7 separate regions of the Homo sapiens genome follow, and regions 1, 3, 4, 5, 6 and 7 are each linked to region 2. Evidence: promoter capture Hi-C in human tissues and cell types (Jung and others, 2019). All regions are on one chromosome and are shown on one strand. Each heading gives the region's core, a stretch centred on a gene start or on the middle of the fragment in contact. The rest is flanking DNA. Distances are from core to core; before and after follow the strand shown. Region 1 overlaps GORAB-AS1 (GORAB antisense RNA 1). Region 2 holds the start of PRRX1 (paired related homeobox 1). Region 3 overlaps GORAB-AS1 (GORAB antisense RNA 1). Region 4 has its middle 69 kb from the start of MROH9. Region 5 has its middle 94 kb from the start of GORAB. Region 6 overlaps LOC124904454 (a long non-coding RNA gene). Region 7 has its middle 74 kb from the start of GORAB.

Region 1 (3,777 bases), core at 788-3,287, 190 kb before region 2:
ACTATAACCCATATATCAAAAATGCCCATGCATTCAAGAAGCAAAATAAAAACAAAAAGAACCACAGGAAGTCCTATCATTATCAAATTACTGAAAATCTGTAATAAAAAGAAAATATTAAAAGCAGCCAGAAATAAAGAGACACATTAAATTCAGAGAAACAAATGTAAGAATGATTAATGACTTCTCAGAAATAAAAAAGCAAGAATACAATGAAACAGCGCCTTAAAAGTGCTGGATATAAAAAGTGTCAACCTAGAAGCTAATATACAGAAAAAATATCCATCAAACATGGACATGACCTAAAAGCATTTAAATACAAACAAAAGCTGAGAGAATTTGTCACTAGAAAACATGAATTAAAAGAAATGTGTTTGGAAGTTCTTTAGGACCAAAGGAATATCAGATGGAAACTTGGATTTATAACAAAAATGAAAAGCCCTGAAAATGCTATATGTGGATAAATATGAGAAATCTTTATTTAACTGTAATTTACTTTACTTTTTAAAATCTGTTTAGAACAGTAACAACAATGTATTGAAGGCTAATGTGTGTAAAAATATAATCTATGACAATATTAGCACAATTATGACATAATTTTATGCAAATAAAGTTGTATGGTAGTAAGAGTCTTACATTATACATGAAGTAGTATATTATTTGAAGGCAGACTTAAAGAAGTTAAAGATGCTTATTATAAAACTTGAGTAATCACTACAAAAAAAGACCACATTGATAATAAGCAAAAAAAAGGAAATAGAATATTTAAATATACTCAATTAAGACCCAAAAAGCCATGAAAATGGTAAAAATATATAAACAGGAAAAATGAAGAAATATTTAGGATAGTAAACAAATATGATGAAAGGATTAAACTTAACTGTATTGATAATTACACTCAATAATTATCAATTATCAATTGATAATTACACTGTTTAGATGACCTAAACATCTCAATTAAAAGGCAGAGATTGTCACATTGGATAAAAAAGCAAAACACAACTCTATGTTTTCTAAAAAAAAAAAAACACCTTAAATATAAGAATATACAGAGGTTAAGAGTGAAAGAATAGAAAAAGATACCACAGAAACACTAAAGAGAAAGCTTATATGGCTATATTAATATCAGGCAAAATGTAGTTCAGAACAAGGAATACTATCAGGAATAACAAGGCCATTTCATAATGACAAAAGAGCCAATTCATCGAAAAGATGTAACAATCCTAAATGTGTATGCACTTTATAATACAGCTTAAAAAATACGTAAAATAAAAACTAATAAAAATGACAGGAGAAATAGAAAAGCCCACAATTATAGTTGGATGTAATAACACATCTCTCCTAGTAATAAAACAGGTTGACAGAAAATCAGTCTAGAAAACTTGAACATTATCAACCAATGTGACACCTAATTGACATATACCAACAATGGCAGGATAGACTTTTTTCACATGCAAATTGGACATTTACCAAGATAGACCATATGCTGAGACATAAAACAAGTCTAAATAAGTTGAATGGATTCAAATCATATGTAGTATGCCCTCTGACCTCAACAAATTTAAATAAGAAACTAATAACACAAAGACATATGAAAAATCTCCATATTCTTAGAAATTAAACAATATACTTCTCAATAACCCATGAATGAAAGAAAAAAATCTAAAGGCAAATAAGATAATATTTCAAATTGTATGAAAACGAAAACACAACATATCAAAATTTATGGGATACAGCTAAGTGATTGCCTGAAGATAAATTTATAGTTTTAATGCTTGTATTAGAAAAGAATATGTAATATCAGTGATCTGAGTTTTCATTCTAAGAAGCTAGAAATCAATTATACTATTAAGCATAAAATAGAAAAAAAGAAAATAATAAAGGCAAGAGCAAAACTCAATGGAATAGAGAAGAAAAAAATCAGAGAAAAACCAAATATCTAAAAGATACTTATTTTTAAAAGATCAATAAAATATAGACATCTGGCTAGACTGACCAAGAAGACAAACTTTTTAAAACATAACAGGGAAAAAACAATACATTTGACTTTATCAAAAAATTTTTTTAACTCTCCAAAAGAGAAAATTAGGAAATTAAAATGCAAGCCATAGACAGGGATGTGGGGGGATATCTGTAATACATATATTTGATAAAAGGCTTGTATCCAAAATATATACATATAAAATTTTTGCAACTCTATAATAAGAAAAGAAGCAACCCAATTTTTTGAAAATGGGCAAAAGATTTGACCAATTGCTTGCAAAAGAAAATGTATAAATGGTAAATAAATAGGGGGAAAGATGGTCCATATAATCTGTAATCAAGGAAATACAAAAATCAAGCCCACAATGAGATATTACTAGACAGGCATTTAGAATGGCTTAAAGGTATTTAAACTGTCAGTATTCATTGTTGTTATGAATAAAAAGTAAGGGAAATTTTTATACATTGATGATGGAAGTGTAAAAGATGCATCATTTTGGAAAAGAGTTTAGCAATATGTGTCAAATTAAAGTATGCTTACCGTTTGGCCCAGTGATTTCATTTCTTGGTATTTACCCATGAAAACGGAAAACATATATTCACAAAAAAAATCTGTATACAAATGCTCATAACGGCTTTATTCATGATGGTTCCAACCTGGAAAAAACCTAAAGTTCCATTAACAGATAAAAGGCTAAACAAACTACGAATGCTACTTAGCCAAAGGAACAAAAAAAAAAAGAAAGAAAGAAATGAACTGCTGACATATGCAACAGCAAGGCTAAGGTTCAACAATATTATGTTGACTTAAGAAAGTTAAAAACAAAACAGTACATACTGTTATACTGTATGTGTATTCCATTATACTGTTACACATTGCATTATATGACATCTAGAATAGGCAAGACATACATAGTGACAGAAAGAAGGTCAGTAGATACTTCACTGAGTAAAGGAAGGGATGCTGACAGCAAATGGGCATAAGGGAAATTTTGGGGGTGATAAAAATATTCTTTATCAATTCAAGTGATTGTTATATGAGTTTATATGTTTGCCAATACTTATTAATTGTTCACCTAATATATGTGCATTTTATTGTATGTCATTTATATTCCAATGATGCTGATTTTAAAGAAAAATCTATTTAAAAGTCTATAAATCTGTCATCCAATTTTGTTATAATTACTCCTAATTTTATCAAATTTCTAATTCATATTCAAGATTTTTTCTATGTATTATTTGATGCCTGTTTCTCTACCTGTACCATTTATAAGCACTTGATGCATACCATCAGTAATTATTTGCAGAAATTTTCTAGCTTAATGATCCCTATGATCCTTTATTATTTTAATAAAAATTTGTCTTATAGTTTGGTATTTAGATTTTCAGTTTATCATTTTTAGAAATAACATTCCAGTCATCACCTCTACACATAAAGCTTTGTCCACACTTGTATCAGTTCCTTGTGAAAGATTTCTAGAAAGCAATATTGGCTTAGGTTACAGGATACAGGAAGAAGTTATTTATATGCGGCCCCTACTTTTCTAGAATTTTACTTATAAAAATTCTGCTTAAAAGATGAGCCACAAGGACAAACTAATACTATGATTCTTATTTCAAGATGATTTGCTTGGAAGTTATATTTTAATTAATTAGCCCATTAGAAATTGGGGCAAGATGTCTGGGCACAGTGGCTCACGCCTGTAATCCAAGCACTTTGCATCATTGTCAGATGCAAAGTTTGCAAATATTTTGTCCTATTCTGTAGGCTGTCTGTTTAGTCTGTTGATAGTG
Region 2 (4,004 bases), core at 261-2,760:
TTTTGTTATTTTTATTACATTATTTAATAGGCTCCCTCTACGGAACCAAAAATAGCCTTAATATGCTTACTTTCTCCCTGTACTCCGCCCCAAACTGTTAGAACAGCAGAAAATTTTTTTTTGGGGGGGGGCGGTTTGGGGGAAGGCAGAAGGAGAAGAAAATTTGATTGTGATGGTGGTGGATTTTTTCCAAATTTCCCCACAGCTGTTATCAAAACATGCAAATGAGATTTTCCAACAGGATCTTAAACAAATCTGGAGGAGTTAATGCCGAAGCAAAATAATCAGCACGTTTGAAGTGACTGTGAGTTTCAGTTTGTCTTTTCTCCCCGTGATATTATTGCAGGGGAATGATAATTAGACCTTTAGAAATCCAAAGGGGCTCTCTTGCTCTCTTCCCTCTCTCATTTCTCTTCTCTCTTTCTCTCTCTCTCTCTCTCCCTTCCTCCCTCCCTCCCTCCCTCTCTCCCTCCCTCTCTCTTGTTCCCTCCCTCTCCCTTTCTCTCTAACTCTGATGTTGGCAAAGGGGGTTTTCTTAATCAGACTGTTTTTTGGTCCCAGGGAAAGGAGGAAGAAGGAGATTGTGATGGAGAAAGGGGGTCTGTGAAACGTCAGGCACAGCACAAAGGCTTTGCCACGTAATTACAGGCTCCTATTAAGTCGAGATCTGCCCTCCCAGGGGTCTCCAATTTTCTTGTATTCCCTACAAAGCCTCCTCTGCATGCCAGTTTGTGCCTTTTGAAGTGCCAGAGAGCTTCTTGATCCAACTGAGAAGGAAAAAGGAGCCCAGCAAGAAGAGGGGGAGAGAGAGAAGGGGAAAGGGGGGAACCCACCAGCACCCTCCGTCGGACTCTTGAAGCCTTTTTTTTTTAATTCTTAATTTTTTTTTTTACTCTTTACAAAAAGTAAAGTGAGAATCCTGCTCTCTAATACATCTGCAAGACATCACCCTCTCCTCCTGAAACTTTAGTCACTCCTGAGAATCCACAGGAGTGCAGAGAGGGGGGAACACGTTTTCTTGAAGATGTTTTAAAGCTGGAACAAGCCTTCTTCTGTTGGTGCTTGAACTCTTGCCTGGGAATAACTTTTTTAACCTTTAAAAAAACCATTCACTTTGATTCTTCTCTCCCACCCCTTCTTCTCTCTTCTTCTGTTTGCCTAACTCCCCCGCCCTGCTGGCCTCCGCTTTCCTCTCTCCCCCTTGTTATTATTTTTAGTCTGTGCGTGTGGACACTTTTGGAGAGTTGGAAGGGATTTTTTTCTCCTGACTTGAACATAGGGTGACTTTTTAATATTGTATTTTACTGTGGATTATCTCTTTGGACCGCGCCGGACTTGGCCTCAGGAAATCAACCAATGCTGCGGAAGGCGGCTGGTGCACAACGCTCTGCTCTACAGAAGGGGGTCCCCCACCCTCTTTTCCAATTTTTTTTTTTTGGCCTTCCTCTCCTTCCCTCCCTCTTCCTCCCTCTCTCTCTCTCTCTCTCCACTACCCCCCTCTTTCTTCCCCACTCGGCTCCTCTCCCCCCTCGCGCCCACAGCGTTTGGTGTTGATTCGAGCGGGAAGAGGGGGGTGGGTGGGATCGGTGGGGGAGACCATGACCTCCAGCTACGGGCACGTTCTGGAGCGGCAACCGGCGCTGGGCGGCCGCTTGGACAGCCCGGGCAACCTCGACACCCTGCAGGCGAAAAAGAACTTCTCCGTCAGTCACCTGCTAGACCTGGAGGAAGCCGGGGACATGGTGGCGGCACAGGCGGATGAGAACGTGGGCGAGGCTGGCCGGAGCCTGCTGGAGTCGCCGGGACTCACCAGCGGCAGCGACACCCCGCAGCAGGACAGTGAGTGAGGGGCGCATGCCCACGGGGGTGTGTGCCCGGGACAGAGGGCGGGGACCCGTGTAGGGCAGCTAGAGCCCGTCCGCGGCCAGAAAGACAAGGTCCTGGGACCAGGAGAGGTGATGGCAGACTTCAAAGGAAGGGCCAGTCACAGGGGAAACCAGATGAGAAAAGCGGGTCTCGGCCGAGGGCATAGCCAAGGAGGACGCTGGAGAGAGGCTCCAAGGTCCGGGGACACTCCGAGGCCCTGCGGTCTCAGGCAGGGACTCTGTCCGCGGCGGACTCTCTTTACTTCGGCTAGGCACCGGCTCGGTTCATCCCGCACGCGGGGCGGCGGGGCTGGGCTGGGAAAAGGTCTTAGCGGGGTGCAAACTCAGAGAGCCAGCGCTGTTTGGGAAAGCAGCAGGTTAAAGATGCTGAGTCGGGTTGGAAGGGCTTCTCTCGGGCAGCGTATGACGGCTTGAGGGAGGGCACCAGGCACAGGGAGCAGGACTTGGCGCTGCTCAGGCTGCACTCTCCACGCGGGCACCGTAAGGCCGGGCGCGACCGGGAGGCCCCGAGAGAACGCCCGGCCCCAGACGCTGGAGCTGCTCTCTGCCCCCTGCTGTTGCCTCTACCGCAAATGGGTTTGAGACTGGCAGAGTCAAAAGCCCGGCTGGCTTGGGAAAACTCGGGCCAAGCAAAGGGAATGTCCTTTAAGGGTGAAACCTGAAATCCAGCCCCGCATGATCCCGCACAGGCGAGCTGCATCCGGGAGGCGCGAGCTTCAGTGCGGAGGCCAGTGTCACCTTAGAGGAGCTCTCCCTATTGGCTCTTAAACGCCCAGAAAAGTCCAGTTTCCCTTCCCCATCCTCACCGACCAACCTCGCGACCCATGAAAATCTCGCTTCGCTAGTGCCTTAAAAAGAGACTGCAATTGTATCCCCATGCCCCCAAGTCTGTAACAGACCGGTCACCCTGTTCATCCCAGGTGACATGTGGCCAGATATGTACAGATACTCCCTCTTCTCCTCGAGGTTGCAAGAGTCTGAACTTAGCTGTAAGTTCTCAAATGAGGCTGGTTGCTTTCTATGTCAGTAGTTGCTGGTTACCATTTTTGTCTTCAAATTTGGAAATCGTGGAACCGGGGGGCCCTCCAGCATTCTATGATTTTCACAAAACGTTGCCTATTTCAGACTCTCAAAGAATAGACATACAAATCAAACTGCACATAGAAACAATTGGAAACAGGGTCCGGGCACAGTGGTGGCCCCGCGGGCCACGCTACAGCAAGCCGCAGAGAGAGCCTCTGGTGTGCTCAAGACGCCTGGTCTTCACCCTGCTTCCTTAGTTCCGGCCTGGGCGCCCCTGGGTGTTTTTAGCCAAAAGCGGCCTAGGGCCGATCCACCCAATGCATTAGCAGACTGCTACAGGAACTGAATGAGGAAGTCTGGCCTGGACACCAGAGAAAGGTGGCCAACTCTGAGGAATGAAGAACCAGGTGTCCTCAAGTTCCGCATAAAGGGCTAGGCGCAGAGACAGAGACGTTCTCTTTAGGGTTTGGGTGCTTGAGAGGCTGCACCCGCAGCATTACTTAAGTGTTTGCATAGGCACTCTTAGTTCTAACAAAATGCACTGAGAAATACTATGATTGTTTTTAAACGTTTTACCAGGGAAAATGAAAAACGAAAAATGTAGGGAGAGTCCAGGCGCGGTGGCTCACGCCTGTAATCCTAGCACTTTGGGAGGCCGAGGCGGGCAGATCACGAGGTCAGGAGTTCGAGACCAGCCTAACCAACGTGGTGAAACCCCTCTCTCCTAAAAATACAAAAATTAGCCGGGCGTAGTGCCGAGCGCCTGTAATCCCGGTTACTCAGCAGGCTGAGGCAGGAGAATCGCTTAAACCCGGGAAGCAGAGGTTGCAGTGAGCCCAGATAGTGCCACTGCACTCCAGTCTGGATGACAGAGTGAGACTCCGTCTCAAAAAAAAAAAAAAAAAAAAAAAGTAGGGAGAACAGCATTTGGTGTAGACCCCAGCTTCACCAATTCTGCACGTCCAGTCGTTTCTGTTTTGCCAGGACGACTTATTAATTGCAACATTTACCACTGTTCGGATACTAGAGGCTGGACCCACAACAGAAAACAGGACCACGAAGAAACTTCTGCTTAGAAGACCAGAGTGGGGCAGG
Region 3 (4,119 bases), core at 193-2,692, 170 kb before region 2:
AAGAAATTTTAAAGACCATTTAGTCTCACCAGCTCATTTTACAAGTGGGGGAACTAGGCTCTGGGTGATGAACAACATTTTAGGTTGTGGAATGGAGTAAGCTCCAGGTAAAAGAAACAACATCTGCGTAGACGCCGGGATGCTGATTGTGCCACCAGAGGAAGACTTTGACTAGATGGGCTATCAGGAAGAATAGAACAAAAGATTAAATAAGTAGAGTTGAACACATTTACAAAGGATGTTGGAATTTCCATTTGCAATTTGTGGGTCAATGTTCTACTTTCATGAAAATGTAGACATTGAATCATATAGGTTAGATTTGGAAAAGAACTCAGGATCTCAGCTCTTATTTCTTTCCTTCATAATACTTTATTTAGTTGTAATTTTGTATTAATTTAACTTTAAAATCTTTGTCATTCACTAGTTTGTAATCTTCATAGCATCTGGCACAGTTGACAGGCATACAGTAAGTACTCCAAAACTATCTGTTGAATGAATGAGATCATCTGAGTTAGCTTTCTACATAGAGATGGCATCCTTTCTTATAGTTTCCTGAACAGTTGACTCTGTGGTCTCTCTGAAAATACTCAGTGATGAAGTCTGGCTATCACCAAGGCCCCTGTCAGGCCATCCTTACTGAGAAGGCGGTAACTTCTTTTGGAAGAGGGAGAACAGACTTTAAGTTACCCGGACAGTCTAGGTCCAAGAACATCAGAATATTGAATGTTTCTATGTTTCTGGTAGGCAATAGTGTTTAATTAAGATACAAGGAAATGAAATATGTGAGGACCTTTTTGTACTTATTCAAAAAGTTCTATAGAATTAGGCATTACTGGCCAGGCGCAGTGGCTCAGACCTGTAATTCCAGTACTTCGGGAGGCCAAGGCGGGCGGATAACCTGAGGTCAGGAGTTCGAGACCAGACTGCCCAACACGGTGAAACCCCACCTCTACTAAAAATACAAAAATAGCCAGGTATGGTGGCACATGCCTGTAATCCAAGCTACCTGGGAGGCTGAGGCAGGAGAATCGCTTGAACCCAGGAGGCGGAGGTTACAGTGAGCCGAGATTGTGCCACTGCACTCTAGCCTGGGTGACAGAGCAAGATTCCATTAAAAAAAAAAAAAGGCATTACTAGACACATTTCACATATGAGGTAACTGAGGCTAAGCTTTAAGTACTTTATTCAAGGCAACACAACACACCGCAGTGAAATTAATTTGAAATTGGGTTTGGCTTTGAGGATCAGGTTCTTCCTAACTGGCTACACTGCCTCTATTAAAAAATATAAACAGAATTGCTACCCTCAATGACACACAATCTAGCTGGAGAGATAGATTTGGAAACATCCTTTATAGTATTTATCACCGGTATATAAAACACACTAAGCACAGAGATGCAAGCTGTTAGTTCTTCCTGGAGTTTGGAAATGTCATGAAAGGTTTTACCAAAGAGGTGCCTCCTGACATGAGTTGTGAAGGTGATTGTCAGGTGGAATCAACCAGACTCAACCAAAAGAGTTTCTCAGAGGAAGGAGTCCAAGAACTCAATGCTGCCAGATTTCCTCATTGGGGCATAATATGTTCCAATTAGGCTGGGGACACACCTAAGTTGATATGCAATAATTTCAGTGGTATTTTTATCAGATTTTGCTTGCTTGCTATGTGAGTACCCCTTCAACTACACCCCCTCACCCTACATGCACACACACACACACATATAGAAAGAGAGAGAGAGCAACTATCACCACCATATACGTCCCATTGCCATGACTAAATAAATTGCCTCAATGCCTTTTCTACTACACTTGCTGTCTCTGACCATTAATAGATAAGGTACTCAGTTTATGTAAATATAAGAGTGTAGCTAAAGGAATTTTAAATTCCAGACATGGTCAATTTAGCTACCTTAAATGCTGCAGTGACTAGCCTGCACCAAACTTTTAGAATAGGGAGTAAATACAGACTAGGCAACAGTAGAGAAATTTCCTGGACTTCTCAAGTTCATGATGGAAATTGGTGAATGTCTTCGACAATTTGCTCTTAATGCAGATGGAATCAGTCTCTCATGGAAACAGATAACTTCCTTCACATTTATTGCATGTGAAAAAACTGTGTCTGGCTTTAAGGCAGTCATGGACCATCTTACTCTCTTCCTTAGCAGAAACTCAACAGAGAATTTAAAATTAAAACTCCAGCTTGTTCATCACACAGATAACCATACAATACAAACAAGCTAAAAATAAATCAAATTTGCTGTATTATAGTATTCAAATTTGAATATAGTATTTGAATATGGTATTCAAATACTACATGTCCTTGGAAGAAAACATTACATTTTAAATTTCTTCCATGCAACACAAAATGATACAGCAGCTGATAAAGCAGAAAGTAAATGTGTATCCAGGATGCACTGGATGTAACACCCACTTTTATAGCTCATCAAGGATACTGAGGCTGAGGGTGGAATGTGTCAGGGATTTTGGTACAATCCCCTGCCACCAGGTTAAGAAAAATATTGAAAAATGATGGTGGGAAGTGATATGGATAGTGTGTGGAAAAGAGTCTAATTTGAGAAAGGACATGATTTCCTTAGTCTTGAACTTGATAGGCCTCAAATTCCCAACACTCCATGGTTTATACAACTGGATAGTCTTAATGAGGTCATGGAAGATGATGTGGAAGTGGCATTAAATCTTTACAATGAGTCCTTAGACAGCAAGTGTTGCTGCTACTGAGGAGAGTCCAAAGGGTTTGCTAATACATAGAACTCTAACATGTACAAAGGGGCCAAATATAGTTTTGAAAAAGAGACCCTAAAAATGGGAACCATAGCAGTGAAGTCTTAAAGAAGATGCCAAAAGCACTGACCTACATAATTAAGTGATGTCAGGAAAAAGGATAAAGCAGATGCTTTTAGAAAAAAATCATTATTTCTCGATTCACAGAAAGACACAGAAGGGGATTAGCCCAGGATGAGAAAGTTGAGAAGACTATGCCTTAACAGCATGGTCTCTCTTTCAGGTTGTCACACTTCCTCTCTTAGGGAAAACAGTCTTGGAACATTAGAACCATAATGAATATTAGAAATAATCTATGCCAACCCCTTATAATATAGCTGGGGAAACTGAGGCACCACAGGTAGTGATTAATTCAAGGTTGCACAGCTAGTAACAGGACACCCAGAACTAGAGCCCACCTTCAGACTTTTTGTGTTCTCTGGTTTAGAAATTAGAAGACTGGATCTAGCCCTGGTTCCTAAACCAACGAGCTATGATACATTAAAAAGACTCTATAATCTCTCTATGCCCAGTTTTCTCATCTCCTCTGTTTCATGGTTAGAGTAAAATGAAGATGCGGCATGTAGCATTCATTATAAAAGACAAATAGTACTATTCAAAAATAAAATATTTTTACCAGATGGTATCTTCTTGAAGTTTAAGGATGGGTATTAACTTTGTATCTTTCCCAGGTTCTAGCACAGACATTACATAAATATCAGTGAAATGAACTGAACTATCTTCAATTTTTATGAACTCAAAATAACCCAATTGTGTACAACAGGGAAACAGTCCAGCAGAACGACTTCCAAGAAGGCTATATTGAATACTCAAAACAATAAATGTACTCTTTGGGGAAAAGCAATACCCATCTGCAATGTAGTCTTAGATCTGGTGATCACATCTAGTAAGAATTCAGTGATATAAAGCTGGGTGGGAAAAAAAAATTATTACATTTCCAGACTTTGGAACCCAACAAATAATTTCTAATTATTATGCAACTTCTTTTCCTTATTTCTCTATTTCAGTAGAGGAGACTTCTACTGAAACTAATCTTTCCTATATTAGCAAACCAAATAAATATAAAATATAGGACCACTCAATCGGGTAATGATTCAATATAATTGACATCTACTTAAAAATACTATCAGTCTTTATGAACCAACTCATTCATTAAATATCTCAAATAATAATTCAGTTTAAGCTAAGCATTTGAACTTTCTAAAAATAGAACCTACTCTGTTGATACAAGCTGACAATATTTAATTTGCTACCTAGTTTTAAGTGGGAGAACATACAAGTTATTTTAAATTCATAAAATGTTGGCTTTTGGTTTCTATT
Region 4 (3,796 bases), core at 84-2,583, 200 kb after region 2:
GCATCCCCTGTTATACTATGAGCTCCTGAAAAGCCAGAACTGTGCCTTATTCACCTCTCTGCTCCCAGCCCTCATCACAATGCTGACATGTAGACAGTACACAATGAATGTTGAAGGAATGGTAATGAGATCTATAGTCAAAACACCAAAGATGCAGCCCTTCATGGCTTTCTAAGTGTTAGAGAGAGAGTCACTTAACCTTTACAAACCTCCTTTTCATCTGGAAAGTGAAAGTAATATTACTACTTTCTTCAGGCGTTAATCAAGGCTTAGATGAAATAATTGTATGTGAAAATGATTTGCTAACTATAAAGAGCTGTGCAAATGTTTACTGTGATTGTACAGGCCCAGGGCAAGAGGGCTAATTACTCCCCTTTCTTCTTATTCAACTCTCAATTCAGGAAGGTTAGGGCTCAAGAAAGACAGAATATTCTACCACTGACGATAATATGTACCAGTTTTTTGAGTATAGATATGTCACCCTTTTGAGCCTCTATTTTACCCTCTGGGAGTTGAGGACATTCTGTGAGATAGACATAAGATCTAAGACACTGCTTTGCCCATTGTAAACACTTAGGAAAAGATCACAGAGGGAAGTCAAAATAGTGTTGTGAAGCCAATAGACTTTGAAGTCAGGCAGACATGAGTTAGTTCAAAGCTCTGCTCTGCCGTGAAATAGGAGGGTGATCTTGGGCAAGTTACTTCTATTTTTAAACCTCAGTTTATGCAGCTATAAAATAGGTTAATATTAATACCACCTGCATGAGATTGGTGTGATCATTACAGGAAATAATGGACACAAACTGACAAGCACATGTTGAGCACATGATAGGCAAGGTAGTTCCTTGTTTCTCCTTCCCTGAAATCAACAGGCTGTCATCCTCCCAGACTTGACTTTTCCTGACAGAGCACTACAACTTCAAACAACCTAAACAACAGAAAAGAAAGGTTGAGCCCTGCTCATCCTCCAAGAGAAATTCATATGCTAGGCTTAGGTTTCCAGAAGTACCCTTCTCACTACCCCCTTCTCACTAGCCTTATCTGTGTATTTCATCTGATGTCAGCTACACTGCTTCCCTTTGGAACAAATTCCAACATCTGAAATTATTAATGGCTCCACCAATCTAAATACCATTTTAGTAAACACCCTTATTTTGCAGAGTCCAACTCTTTTGTGGCTATGAAATATCCCTTACTGATTCCGGTCAGATTTCAGGTTGATGGCCAGGGTTTATAGCCAGGTGGATGGGAAACACTGCTGGTGGCAAATGGCACACCTTCCTCCAAGTTTCATTTCTGCAGATGGTTCCAGGAGCTGCCATGGATGCCAGGCCTGCCTCCTCTGCCTGGGCATCTTACTCTGCTGTCTGAGGCTCTTGTACTCACTAACCTTTAGTTTCCAGTCAACAATTTTCATATGCTTCAATTGCAGTCAAAGGCATCATTTTTCCAAATCGTTTGCCTTAGATTACTTGCAGCAGGTTGACCCAAGAGGTGATTGCTTAAACCATATTTTCCTTGCACCTATACGCCAACATTCCATATACCTGTTAATTATGTAATACAGCGCTTAAGAAAAGGACCACTGGGATTTTCACCTACTGGTTTCTAGAATATTAAGAGGCTTAATTTTTAAGCAAGTTAAAAATTTGCAAGTTAAAACTTCCATGAACTTTATTAAAACTTTCATTAACTTGCAGAATTCTCATTCTCCAATGTGAGAATTCTTGTGAGCCTGCCACATATTGTCTGTCTCCCTGTAGAACTGGGGAGAGCACGTCTGGGAAGGCAGAAGTGCAAGCTCATTGTGCTGTGGCTGTTGCTGGGACACAAAGGTGGCATCATAAACACTGATTATTTATTATCCTAATATAGTTCCAAGGACTGTATTAGCTCCTATTTGGACCCTTAATAAGAAATGGAAAGGAATGTGTATGGACTCAATCACATTTTCCCCTTAATGGAGAAGAAGCTCACCTAAGACCAAGCTTACCTTGGAGGTCAAGACCATGTGCCCTCGGTTGACAATGCCAAATGTTTATTGTATTACATGACACCTACATCTGTTCCCATCAGGAATCAGCACACTTCTCTAACAAATAGGCTGTGCATTTTATCTAGTATACTTTCTGTTAACACAAAGACCTGTTATGTAAAAACTGCATTTTTTCCCCCAAAGTTATCCACCCCCCACCTCTTGAAGATCAAATTTACATCCAATCTTTTCCACTCATATGATAGGCTATTATCTGTTAGTTTCCCAAGTTGAAGGAAAGAAAAATGTCAGCCTTTTTCTTGGCCATCAGCAATGCTGTAAAGAGTAGTCTTGGTGGGCAAGTGGAGAGATACACCTCACCCCTTTTACCTATCTCAGTATCCTGCTTCTCCTCTGTCCATGTATACAAAGGCAGATGAGAAGATGACTATCTATCCCTTTCTATCCTCGTCTTAATGCCTACATTTTGATTGTGAATTATGAATAACTGAAGCTTTGTTCATAAACCCAAGATCTGTAGGCATTTCAAGGACAGATTTGACAATAAATGTGAAGAGAGAATAGTCTGTAACTCCTGCCGTGGTGTTATCTCGGCTTTCTCTGGTTCGTATCTATTTTTAGGCTTTTTTTTGTCCCAAGTCTTTGCCTCCAGTCTCTGCTTTCTATTGGATGGTGAAATTATGATAGAATAACAAAGTAATTGCTAAAGTTTATTAAGCACAAGTGTGTGATATGCTCTATGCTTAGCACTGTATTATCCAACTTAATACTCACAAGGTGGGCACTATTATTATACCTATTTTACTTAAGAGGAAAGGAGATTTTCAGAAATCAAGTATTAGGCAGCTAATACATGAGTAAGTCATCAAGACGGTGACCAGAGTTGCTACCATTAAGACTTCTTCAAATCCACTGCTCCCTTCCACTGCTGGCTAACAACAAGCAGTGGAGGAGAGATGGATGGCAGGGCAGGAACAGTGGTGCTGGGAAGGTTTGTTTTGAATGATTAGAAAGAAGGTTATGGGATAGATTTTCCTTATGTGTGAAATATCTTATGTGTGTCATGTGTGACAGTGGCCTTCTACACAGAGTGGAATTGCATGGAAGTTCACACTGGGCCCACGCTGGCAGTGTACTGGAATGAACACAACCAGCCAATCCAAATTTTTGCTAACAAGGTACCAGGGAAATACAATTATGTTCACTTCAGCATCACAGAAATGGAAGGAATTCAATTTCTGCATGGAATCCCAGAAATTGAATCCCAGCATGGGAGAAAGAAATAAAACTTAAGCCACCAAAGACTCAACCTAATACTGCACCCCCAGAATACCAATTACTTTTTTCCCCTCTAACTCTCTTCTAAAAGGACTGTTGTGCCACTTATCACCTTACCTACATTAATTTTTCTAGTAACAAACATGTCTAAGGTGCTAAATCATTGCAGATTACTGCATGTATGTGCAATAACCTGTGACAGAATAATAAATAGCAAATACATGAAAGAAGGAATAAAAGTTTCTGCTGCCGTTAGTATAAGGAGTGCACATCAGGTTCATGAAACATGCCAAAAATAATTTAAAAAATGAGATTGCCTCCAGCTTTGTTCCTTTTGCTTAGGATTGTCTTGGCTATGCGAGCTCTTTTTGGGTTCCATGTGAATTTTACAATGGTTTTTTTCTAATTCTATGAAGAATGTCAATGGTAGTTTAATGCGAATAGCATTGAATCTGTAAATTGCTTTGGGCAGTATGGCCATTTTTACGATATTGATTCTTCCTATCCATGAGCATGGAATGT
Region 5 (3,788 bases), core at 55-2,554, 230 kb before region 2:
TGAGCCAGCACACTCCTGAGTATATTTCCCATTTCTCCAAATACCGTGTGTGGTAAGCTGAACCATGGCCCCCCAAGATGCCTTCATCCTAATCTCTGGTGCCTGTGAATATTATCTTATATGGCAAAAGAGACTTTGCAGGTGTGATTAAATTAAATATCTTGAGATAAAGATGTTATGCTGGATTATCCAAGTGGGCCCAGTGTAATCATAGGGATTCTTTTAAGAGGGAGGCAGGAGATGAGGGAGACCGAAGGTGATATGATAACAGATGAAGAAAGATAGGGAGAAAGGGATTTGAAGATACTATGCAGCTGGCTTTGAAGACACAGGAACATGGCCATGAACCCAAGGATGTAAATGGCCTCTAGAAGGTGGAAGAGACCAAGAAATGAATTCTCCCCTAGAGTCTCCAGAAAGAACCAATCCTGCTGGCACCTTGACTTTAACCCAATTAAAATTTATTTCAAACTTCTGGCTTCCAGAACGATCATAAATCTTCATTGTGTTTGTGGTAATTTGTTACAATGGCAATAGGAAACTAACGTGCATGTTTTCACATAGAATTTAAAAGAGAAATCATGAAAATTTCATTAAAAATAAAGATAAATATATGTGACTCTCTTGCCAGCGTACTACAAATGCCAGTTGGTTTTAGCAAATGCAGTTATTTGACTGAGGATAATTTTGAGAGAGAAGACACTTTGGAAGTGGAATAAAAATTATTCTTCATATTTTAGGGTAGAGGAAACATAATTAGGTAATGGATAAAACTCGCCAGGGCACACTCAAATAGAAAGTTTCTTGCCTTTTTTCACTACCTCCTCATGGGATCAGGTGATTCTCTCCTACAGTGCACTTTGGGACAACAACCCTTTTCCTTTATCCTTCACACATTCTCTTATTCTCTAACAGGCCATCTCAAAACTGTTTAGGTGGCAAGGACATTAATGACCATTTTGTTATACAAATTATACCTTTGTAAGTAGACAGCATTTCACAACTTAGCATACTAATCAGGTTCTCCCAGCCCCCTCTAATTCAGTTCCACTCTGCTGGACTATGCCATTTTTAATCCTACCCCTCTGTACTGAACACTAGACAAATCCTTGAGTTGGTGGAAGATGAATGAAAGAAAACATGATGAACCAACCGAAGCAGAAAAAGTGATCAAAGAGCACCCCAGGCCTAAAAAATCAAGGTCCTCTCTATAGACCCAATTTAAAGTACGTGATTCAAAATTGTTGTTGCTCAAAATGACCGAGCTAGTCTCAAGAGCTTTGCTAATGACTTTGCCATCTGGGAAGGCAGAGAACTTAAAAGATAATTATTTTAGGGGTGAGGGACTAGCACAAGATTACAAGAATATCAAATGTAAATGAAAAGCTTTGGCCATAGCAAACACTGACAAACTGTCCACAGGAATAGCTTACCTAAAATCCAATTAAAACAGTAAGGCCCCTTATTTAATTGCCCTTAAATAGGAAGTCCAACCCCTAAAATGTATGCCTAAGGGCGACAGAACTCTTCACTGAAACTTCTCCTGTAAGGAACCGCAAATCACTCTACGGATCCCAGAGCAAGGACATCATCTAGTGTATGAGCTTCCCTCTAGAACTCACTTATACTGGGAAATGGATTGGGATGGTGAAGTAGCTTTGAAAACCCCTGCTTACTGTGGTAAACACTTAAGCTGGTTAGGATACAGTCAGGACTACTTACCCCTCACAAGGAGACAACCAGAGAGGTTTAAATAAGCTCTTTCAAATACATTAAGGACCCACAAGCCTCAATAGAAAGTAAAAAAGACAACATGCAGAATTTTTGCTATCTGTTCCTTGAAATGATAAAGTGAAAGTTACTCCTTTTATAATAATTTAGATGCAGGTCAACTCCATGGTATCAAGTCATGAACATTCTGTAATTCTGTAGAAACTACAAAAAATGAAGGAATATTGACCTGAACTTTTTTGGTGGGGAGCGGTGTTTCTTTAATTCTTCTTAGCACCTCTTTAAGAAATTTTCCTTCTCTATTCAATCTGTTTCATGGGTGAGGCTGGTGAATAAGAATCATTTGCTTCATTGCTCTAGTAAGCCTGTGTTTAAGGGATGATGTCTAATCTGGTGTATACGCTAGAGTAGTACAAATATTTGGAGTCATTATAAGTTGTTCAAACCCTCTCAGCATCTGCTATATTGCTTTTAAATATAATGTGTAACAACACTTGCACTTCCTACCTAGGCAGAATAATAAGGACAATATTTACCATTTTCTATGGAAAAACCAATATAACCAGTCAAAATATATGAAACAATATTTTTTAAGATACTGGATATTAAGGAACAGAGAAAAAGGGTCCCACAGATACAGAAAATGAGTAAGGTGAGCCCTACAATTACCTCAGATTTCTGCCTTGTGATGATTGCCAGTCCATAGCACATGAAGAGAAAATCCAGGTAGAGTTGAGGGGACTCCCTGAGTTGAAGAGACAAAGCTAAGAGTCCAGGGAGACCAACGTAGCTACAGTTCACAAGACAGAGAACCAGGAAGTACATAGCTGCACAAAGGAAGAAGTCCAAGGACTAGCAAAGTGTCCCCCTTGAGTATTCATTAGAGTACTGATCAGTGCATGCATGTAAAGAAACCAACCAAGCTAGGGAAACAACTACTGGAAAAGTTTAATGATAATAGTACGTGGCAATTACACAGGACCTGGAAGAGTATCTGCCCTTATCACCATAGGAAAATGTGAAAATTCACAATGAATTAAGAAGAGTACACAGGATAGTCTTACCTCTGTGGAATAATTAGTAATAGATCAAATAATACTCTGGTCCCATGTAACAAATCTTAAAAGTCGTATGCAAGAAGATAAACTGTTTCTAAGTAACATAACTGCATGCCAAAAGAAAGCTCAAATCTACTTAGAAGAATTCAAAAAATATCCAGTACCCAGAAAAGTAAAATTCACAATGTCTGGCACCCAATCAAAAATTATCAGGAATGCAAAGAAGCAGGAAAATTCAATCCATGGTAAGGAGAAAAAGCAGTATATTGAAATTGACACAGAACTGACACACATGTTTGAATTAGCAGACAAGGATATGAAAACATTTACTGTAACTGCATTCCATATGTTCAGAGAATTATGTAAAAACATAAAAGAAATTTCTAAAAACCTAATCAAACTTCTAGTGGTGAAAACAAAAATGTCTGATAATAAATACACTGGATGAAATTAGCAGCAGATAGGACCTTACAGAAAGAAATACAAGTGAATTTGAATACACATCAGTGAGCTATGGAGCAACTTCAATCAGCCTAATGTAGATGTATCTGAAAGAGAGAAAAGGAAATGCAAAAGAGATACTTGAAGAAATAATGGTCATTTAAAAAACTGATGAAAAATGTAAACCCAAATATCCAAGAAGCTCAATTAATTCCAAGTACAACAAATAAGAGGAAAAAAACTGTACCTACAAAGGCAAATCATAATCTTTGTGAAGATTTTTAACTACTAATTTAGTGATCTTATATCATAATATGATATAAGATCATATAGATATAAAGACTAGAACTATCTAAATTGTTTGTTTCTTCTGGAGGGAGTTTTAGTAATTTGTGTCTATCAAAAAATTGGTCCATTTTATTTAAGTTGTTGATCTGTTGAATTCTACCAAACATGAAAGGAAGAAGTAATACCAATTCTGTACAAACACTTTTAGAAAAATTGAAGAGGAAAGGATATTTCCCAATTTATTATTTGGTTTTAGTATTATTAGGATTC
Region 6 (4,043 bases), core at 1,261-3,760, 150 kb after region 2:
CTAAAGGAGGAAAAAATGGTTTTGCTTAACATGGACTATTATGAAATGGCATCTCTCTCTCTGGTGACTCACAGGAATGAGGCGCCCTTCTCTGGAAGGGTAGGTTGCCCACAATAATATTGTCTTTGTTCTTCTAGATGAACAGCTAGTCCATCTCAGTCTCTTGCCTTATAGATCTCTCAGGTATGAGCCAAATGCCAGTCCACTAGATATCCTGGGCTCCAAGGGCCACATATCAAACTCTCCAAAATGCCTCTGTCCCTAGGATGATGGTTGAAAGGGGGATGGGAATGAAATGCACAGGATATTAATAGCTCTTTACAAAAATATTTTAAAATTTTATATTTCCCAGGCATATTAACTTCAAATATTTTGTGCTCTCAAGTGGATGCCAAGCCAAAGCCTCAAAGCCTGTAATTAGCTACCTTCTTTGCAAACCCTGCATTAATCATCTTATTTTGAGATGTGGGGAAAGTTGGAGTGTATTTTTGGGGGGCCATGAATAAAACAAAGATAGAAATAGTTTGATTTCAGCAACTTCTTACTCATGAGTATGTTAAGGGATAGGAGGAGTATCCCATGGCTATTAACAGTTTCTACTGGGGACAAGCACCAACCTATCAAAGCACAAAATATAATATTTTGAGGAAATTGGTCCTGGAAGAACCATGGCACCATCTGGTTCTTGGAAAAATAGGCACGCGTTTACTTTACACTTGAAAAGGAAGCTTTTCTGCTCTGAATTGTACTGTTTCAAGTTGATAAACCTGTTTCTGAAGGGCACATGTTGCTTTCTTTATTGGATGCTTATAGTGACACATTCCTGTTTGTGGGGGAGCTGCACAGGGTAGGCAGGGGAGGTGAAGACTCAGAGGAGAGACAGGGAGGAGGGGTTCCCAAATGTCTTGATATGAAAAATAGGAAACAGTTCCTTTTTGAAAACCTGTAAGTTAACCAGCAGTAGCAACAACGATGAACTGTCATGCAGAAGACTGGCTGAGGTTTGGGTTATAAAACAATATTTGCCATCAAGAGGGTTTTAGTATTCCAGTTTGCAGCAGGAGTGGCTTGTGGCCAGGCTCAGCCTTGCTAGAGAAGCTCAGAGGGTTTTCTTATAAGTCCCAAACTATTTAAAAAACAGACTCAAACACAGTGATATCTCACTTATCCAGCCCCTTGCAAAACAGATGTTCCACAGAAACACATTTCTAGATGATATTTAGGTTTATGTTATAATTTAATAAAGCTTGCAAAATAATTTTGTTCATTTGTTTTTCTTATTTCAGTCTGATCCTTATAACAACCCACGGAATACAGCATGGGAGGCTTTATTAATCTCACTGACTTGCCCACACAACAGAGGTAGCATAATTGGTTTTTGCCTTGCTCCCCATGGCTCTCAGACTTCTGACCCTAGGTATATCTCAGAAACTTTTTCAATATATTAAAGACAGGATAATTTGTGAAATCCTACTAGTATTCACTCCTAGGAAAAAGAAGACTGAAACCAGAATTGCGTTGAATATAATAAGGGTTTTAAGTATCTTTTTAATATTTTAAATATTTAAAATACCTTTAAATAGTGCCAAGTACTATTAGGTACTGTCAAAGAACAAAGGAAGATCCTGGACTTAAGGAATCTCTGGGATGAGGTCAATGTGGTGGCTGGGATGGTGCTGGGCCAGGGGGCAGGGAGTCTGGGAGGCAGGCCATTTCTAGAAGGGCCACGCAGGAAGGAAAGACAAAAAGCGGGGGCTGGATGTGGGGCAGACATCAGCCTGAGAGGGTGGGCAGAGTATAATGGGGTCCTTAGCAAGACAACGCCTGAGCTGGGCAAGGCAAGGTGAGATTATGTGGAGAGCCACCCACTACCACCATGTTAGCAGTTTCTTCATGTATGGGATCATCCTGTCCAGCCCAGTCTCAAAGAGACCATTCCCAGTGCTTCTGGGGTTTTAAGAAGGTAATAATGGAATGACAGGCATGGCCACTAATGGATGTTTTATTATCCTAAGTTTACCCAGGAATTTCTTATTTCCTATGACCCTGTTATCAAATTTCATCAGCTTTTGCAAAAATGAAATGTTTATCCTACTGGAATTTTTTGGAGATCTCACACTTTATAATATTTGCAATGCCCTTGTTAGGAAGTATGTAAATCCTATTCTATTAAGTTTTTAAAGTTGAAGCTCAGATAATCCATTGCCCAGGGTCTTCTGCTGAAAGGACGAAAGGAAGTACTGTATCAGACTCCAAAATCAGCATTATCCCAAAGCTAAATGTCTACTCAGAAGGAGAAATAGAAGCATCCTTTGACCACCAAAGGAAGTCCCTTCCTTCACCCTTGGTATATTTCTCCTACTAGTAAAGGGATCCATTTCTGCCTGCTCCTGAGGCTTCTTTCCAGCCTTGCCTTCTGTGCCTTTCCATGGCTGCAGGTTCTATTCTTGAATTAACTTGACTCAGTCAGTTCCAGGGTTGGCCAAAGGAGTACTCACCATTTGTTCTGGGTTCCCAGCTACTTCCTGCAGTTAATTCCTAGAGAAGTTGCGGCTTTGGGAGCCTGAGGTTCTTGTTTTTGATCCTGAGTCTATAATAGCACCTCACTCTTCATCATACCCTCCTAGCCCTTATAATCACCAGGAGATTTATCACTGTCCCAGTCTACACTGGAGGTTTCATTCTGGGCCCCCTTCTGAGAAGTTCTGTAGTTTTTCCAGGTCTTTTCTTCAGCTTCTGCCTTTTCCTTCTCCAGTCAGTGGGGTTCCTCCCCCTAACCCAACCCAGTGGCTAGGGCTGAATATTGACTGCAAGTCAGTCTGGCTTTCTAGGATCAGAGTATCATCTGGGGCCAGGATTCCTTGCTCCTGGGTCCTATTCATCTGCCAGACTCCTGCTCCATCATGTTGGTTCCCAGTGCCAACCATGTGCCTGAAAATTGACTGAAAACCACAATAATGTTTAGCCATGATGAGCCACCTCTCAGCTCTGCTGCTGTCAAGTCATCATCTGTTCACTGCCACCCTGGGCCTTCTGATAGCTCCTACCATACTGGACTACTTACAAATCCTAAGAGAAAACAATCTTTCTGGGTTATTTAAGCCATCTCTCAAGTATCTTCTTAAAAAGTAGAAAGACAGGATGTCCGTTCTAAGATGGCTGAATAGGAATAGCTCTCGTCTGCAGCTCCCAGCATGATCCATGCAGAAGATGGGTGATTTCTGCATTTCCAACTGAGGTACCTGGTTCATCTCATTGGGACTGGTTGGACAGTGGGTGCAGCCCATGGAGGGTGAGCCAAAGCAGGGCGGGGCATCGCCTCACCTGGGAAGCACAAGGGGTCGGGAGATTTCCCTTTCCTAGCCAAAGGAAGCCATGACAGACTGTACCTGGAAAAACGGGACACTCCCACCCAAATACTGCACTTTTCCCAAGGTCTTAACAACTGGTAGACCAGGAGATTCTCTTCCGTGCCTGGCTCGGCGGGTCCCATGCCCACGGAGCCTTACTCACTGCTAGCACAGCAGTCTGAGATTGAACTGCAAGGCTGCAGCCTGGCAGGGGGAGGGGTGTCCACCATTGCTAAGGCTTGAGTAGCTCACAGTGTAAACAAAGAGGCCGGAAATCATGAACTGGGTGGGTGGAGCCCACCGCAGCTCAGCAAGGCCTACTGCCTCTACAGACTGCACCTCTGTGGGCAGGGCATAGCTGAACAAAAGCCAGCAGACAACTTCTGCAGACTTAAACGTCCCTGTCTGACAGCTCTGAAGAGAGCACTGGTTCCCCAGTATGGCATTTGAGCTCTGAGAACAGACAGACTGCCTCCTCAACTGGGTCCCTGACCCCCATGTAGCCTAACTGGGAGATACCTCCCAGTAGGGGCCAACAGACACCTCATACAGGGCGGTGCCCCTCTGGGACAAAGATACCAGAGGAAGGATCAGGCAGCAATATTTGCTGTTCTGCAATATTTGCTGTTCTGCAGCCTCTGCTGGTGATACCCAGGCAAACAGTGTCCGGAGTGGACCTCCAGCAAACTCTAA
Region 7 (3,553 bases), core at 871-3,370, 210 kb before region 2:
CCATCTCAAAAAAAAAAAAAAAAAGGAAGAAAGAAAAATGTTGAATATTGGCCCCCACTCTCTTCTGGCTTGTAGGGTTTCTGCTGAGAGATCTGCTGTTAGACCACAATGCAATCAAATCAGAACTCAGGATTAAGAAACTCACTCATTTTTTTCCTTCATTTCAACCTTGGTGAATCTGATGATGATGTGTCCTGTGGTTGCTCTTCTCAAGGAGTATCTTAGTGGTGTTCTTTGTATTTCCTGAATTTGGATGTTGGCCTGTCTTGCTAGGTTGAAGAAGTTCTCCTGAATAATATCCTGAAGAGTGTTTTCCAACTTGGTTCCATTCTCTCAGTCACTTTCAGGTACAACAATAATACGTAGGTTTGGTCTTTTTACATAATCCCATATTTCTTGGAGGCTTTGTTCATTCCTTTTCATTCTTTTTTCTCTAATCTTGTCTTCATGCTTTATTTCATTAAGTTGATCTTCAATCTCTGATATTCTTTCTTTTGCATGATCAATTTGGCTATTGATACTTGTGTATGCTTCACAAAGTTCTCATGCTAAGGTTTTCAGCTCCATCAAGTCATTTATGTTCTTCTCTAAACTGGTTATTCTGGTTAACAATTCCTCTAACCTTTTTTCAAGGTTCTTAGCTTCCTTGCATTTGGTTAGAACATGCTTCTTTAGCTTGGAGGAATTTCTTATTACTCACCTTCTGAAGCCTACTTCTGTCAGTTCGTCAAACTCATTCTCCATCCAGCTTTGCTCTCTTGCTGGCGAGGAGTTGTGATCCTTTGGAGGAGAAGAGGCATTCTGGTTTTTGGAATTTTCAACCTTTTTACACTGGTTTTTCTTCATCTTTGTGGATTTATCTAGCTTTGGTCTTTGATGTTGGTGACCTTCGGATGGGGTTTTTCTTTGGACGTCCTTTTTGTTGATGTTCATGCTATTCCTTTCTGTGTGTTAGTTTTCCTTCTAACAGTCAGGCCTCTGCTGCAGGTCTGCTGGAGTTTGCTGGAGGTCCACTCCATACCCTGTTTGCCTGGGTATCACCAGCAGAGGCTGCAGAACAGCAAAGACTGCTGTCTGTTCCTTCCTCTGGAAACTTCATCCTAGAGGGGTACCTGCCAGATGCCAGCCAGAGCTCTCCTGTATAAGGTGTCCGCTGACCCCTGCTGGTAGGTGTCTCCCAGTCAGGAGGCATGGGGATCAGGGACCCACTTAAGGATGCAGTCTATCTCTTAGCAGAGCTTGAGCACTGTGCTAAGACATCCACTTCTCTCTCTAGAGCTTGCAGGCAGGAATGTTTAAGTCTGCTGAAGCTGTGCCCATAGCCACCCCTTCCCCCAGGTGCTCTGTCCCAGGGAGATGGGAGTTTAACTATAAGCCCCTGAGTGGGGCTACTGCCTTTATTTCAGAGGTGCTCTGCCCAGAGAGGAGGAATCTAGAGAGGCAGTCTGGCTACAGCAGCTTTGACGAGCTGCTGAAATTTACTCAGCATTTCAAGTTGTTTGCAGTTCTAACTTCCAGGCAGCTTTGTTTACACTGTGAGGGGTAAACCGCCTACTCAAGCCTCAGTAATGTTCGACGCCCCTCCCCCCACCAAGCTTGAGCATCCCAGGTCTACTTCAGACTGCTGTGCTGGCAGCAAGAATTTCAAGCCAGTGGATCTTAGATTTCTGGGCTCCATGGGGGTGGGATATGCTGAGCTAGACCACCCATCTCCCTGGCTTCAGCCCCCTTTCCAGGAGAGTGAACAGTTCTGTCTAGCTGCTATTCCAGGCGCCACTGGGGCATTAAAAAAAAAAAAAAAAAAAAAAAACTCCTGCAGCTAGCTTGGTGTCTGCCCAAACGGCTGCACAGTTTTGTGCTTGAAACCCAGAGCCCTGGTGGCATAGGCACCCAAGGGAATCTCCTGTCTGCTGGTAACAAAGAGCATGGGAAAAGCACAGTATCTGGGCCAGAGTGCATCGTTCCTCATGACACAGTCCCTCATGGCTCCCTTGGCTAGGGGAGGGAGTTCTCCAACCCCTTGCACTTCCCGGGTGAGGTGACACCCCACCCTGCTTCATCTAACCCTCCATGGGCTGCACCCACTGTCTAATCAGTCCCAATGAGATAAGCTGGGTGCCTCCATTGGAAATGCAGAAATCACCCGCCTTCTGCATTGATCTCGCTGGGAGCTGCAGACTGGAGCTGTGCCTATTCAGCCATCTTGCCAGCCACCCTCTCTCTTTGTTTTTTAGGAGCTTTATTATGATGTTCCTTTATTATGGTGTGGTTTACTTCATAGTTTTCTATGTGGAATTCATAACTCTTCTTGAATCTATGTGTTGATGTTTTTCAGCAGTTTTGGAAAATTATCAGCCATTGTCTCTTCCAATATTGCTTCTTCCCCATTCTCTCTCTTTTTCTTCTTCTAAAATTGTGATTACACATTTGATAGATATTTTCATTATTTCCTATATGTCTCTTATCCTCTGTGCTTTCCTTTACTTTGTTTCTCTATACTTTTTTCTGAATATTTTCACTGACTTATCTTCTAATTTACTAATTCTATTTTTGGCTGTGTCTAATTGGCTCTTAAACCCACACACTGATTTTTAAATTGACTTTTAAATTCAGTTATTGCATTTCTACTCTAGAATTCCAATTTCATTGTTTTTCTAGATTCCAGTTCTATACAATTCTCTTCATGTTGTCCTTTTAGTTAGAATATTTATCAAAGTTATTTAAAGGTCCATGTCTGCTAACTCTAATAAATGTCTCTCCTATAGGTCTGTTTTATTTTATTTTTTCCTGTTTTTTTTTCTCTTAAGTTTTTAGCATTTGCCATTGCCTCCTAGAAGGTGTGGTAATATTTTATTAAATGCTAACATTGTATATGAAATATTTTAGCAATACCTTTATGCTTTTGATGATGTTATCTCCCTCCATAGAGTATTTATTTTGTTTTCAGTGTATTATTAGCCTAGGAAGATTGCTTTAATATAACAAGGGATTAAACTGATATGACAGTTTGTTTCAGTCACTGGAAGGACTTATTCTGTTCATTATTAATTCCAATTTGTATCCCTTTAGGGATCCCAACTGAAAACCTGGTTGTTTACCAGGTCCCTGACACATTCACAAATTCTAATATCTAATTTTTGTCCCCTCGGTCCCATGGAACTGCCAAAAGCAGCCCTCAGTTTCTCAATTTTGTTGACCTGGATAGGAAAGGTAGCACCAATTTTCAGGCTCCTCTCCTGGTTCTTTTGTCATCTTGACAATCTTGAACTCTCAATTTTTGACTGGCTTATACCTCTCCAATGTCATCAAAATGATTTTTAAAATGTATCCAGCATTTCAAGTTGTATTTCCTGAGTAGACTTCTAAAAGCATAATTTCTTGGTTAAAGTTACAGACATTTTAAAACTCTAAAATATTTTTGCCCTATTGTCTCCAGAAATATTTGGCTATCTATATTCTAATAATTAGGCTTAGTTTTAAGTGACTATCAATAACTTTCCATTTTTTTAATTTGAGAAAAACATGAAAATATTTTTATGTGGAAAAGATTTTT

What was found. The method cuts DNA at HindIII sites, captures the fragments that hold promoters and counts their contacts. A contact is called where the count stands out against the background at its distance.
Region 1: a fragment that was not itself captured here is called in contact with the fragment with the promoter of PRRX1 in region 2 in 1 of the 25 tissues and cell types used here (H1 embryonic stem cells).
Region 3: a contact is called between a fragment that was not itself captured here and the fragment with the promoter of PRRX1 in region 2, in 5 of the 25 tissues and cell types used here (H1 embryonic stem cells, liver, mesendoderm cells and 2 more).
Region 4: a fragment that was not itself captured here is called in contact with the fragment with the promoter of PRRX1 in region 2 in 2 of the 25 tissues and cell types used here (aorta and neural progenitor cells).
Region 5: a fragment that was not itself captured here is called in contact with the fragment with the promoter of PRRX1 in region 2 in 2 of the 25 tissues and cell types used here (liver and mesendoderm cells).
Region 6: a contact is called between a fragment that was not itself captured here and the fragment with the promoter of PRRX1 in region 2, in 2 of the 25 tissues and cell types used here (aorta and ovary).
Region 7: a contact is called between a fragment that was not itself captured here and the fragment with the promoter of PRRX1 in region 2, in 3 of the 25 tissues and cell types used here (H1 embryonic stem cells, aorta and mesendoderm cells).

The regions. Positions count from the first base shown.
Region 1 is chr1:170,474,898-170,478,674 of GRCh38, forward strand. The region is part of intron 1 of GORAB-AS1 (GORAB antisense RNA 1); the gene reads right to left. Among named protein-coding and RNA genes, the nearest start is that of GORAB, 55 kb to the right of the region's middle. The HindIII fragment of the contact is 4,040 bases long and covers 18-3,777 here.
Region 2 is chr1:170,662,621-170,666,624 of GRCh38, forward strand. PRRX1 (paired related homeobox 1) reads left to right here and starts at 1,511. Exons shown (of 4, transcript NM_022716.4): 1 at 1,511-1,839. The coding sequence starts at 1,599. RefSeq lists enhancers at 416-943, 2,144-3,004. The HindIII fragment of the contact is 17,405 bases long and covers 1-4,004 here.
Region 3 is chr1:170,495,460-170,499,578 of GRCh38, forward strand. The region is part of intron 1 of GORAB-AS1 (GORAB antisense RNA 1); the gene reads right to left. Among named protein-coding and RNA genes, the nearest start is that of GORAB, 35 kb to the right of the region's middle. The HindIII fragment of the contact is 9,877 bases long and covers 1-4,119 here.
Region 4 is chr1:170,865,033-170,868,828 of GRCh38, forward strand. No RefSeq gene overlaps it. Among named protein-coding and RNA genes, the nearest start is that of MROH9, 69 kb to the right of the region's middle. The HindIII fragment of the contact is 3,866 bases long and covers 1-3,266 here.
Region 5 is chr1:170,436,735-170,440,522 of GRCh38, forward strand. No RefSeq gene overlaps it. Among named protein-coding and RNA genes, the nearest start is that of GORAB, 94 kb to the right of the region's middle. The HindIII fragment of the contact is 7,035 bases long and covers 1-3,788 here.
Region 6 is chr1:170,807,605-170,811,647 of GRCh38, forward strand. All of the region lies in intron 1 of LOC124904454 (a long non-coding RNA gene), which reads right to left. Among named protein-coding and RNA genes, the nearest start is that of MROH9, 130 kb to the right of the region's middle. The HindIII fragment of the contact is 4,513 bases long and covers 255-4,043 here.
Region 7 is chr1:170,456,325-170,459,877 of GRCh38, forward strand. No RefSeq gene overlaps it. Among named protein-coding and RNA genes, the nearest start is that of GORAB, 74 kb to the right of the region's middle. The HindIII fragment of the contact is 6,792 bases long and covers 1-3,553 here.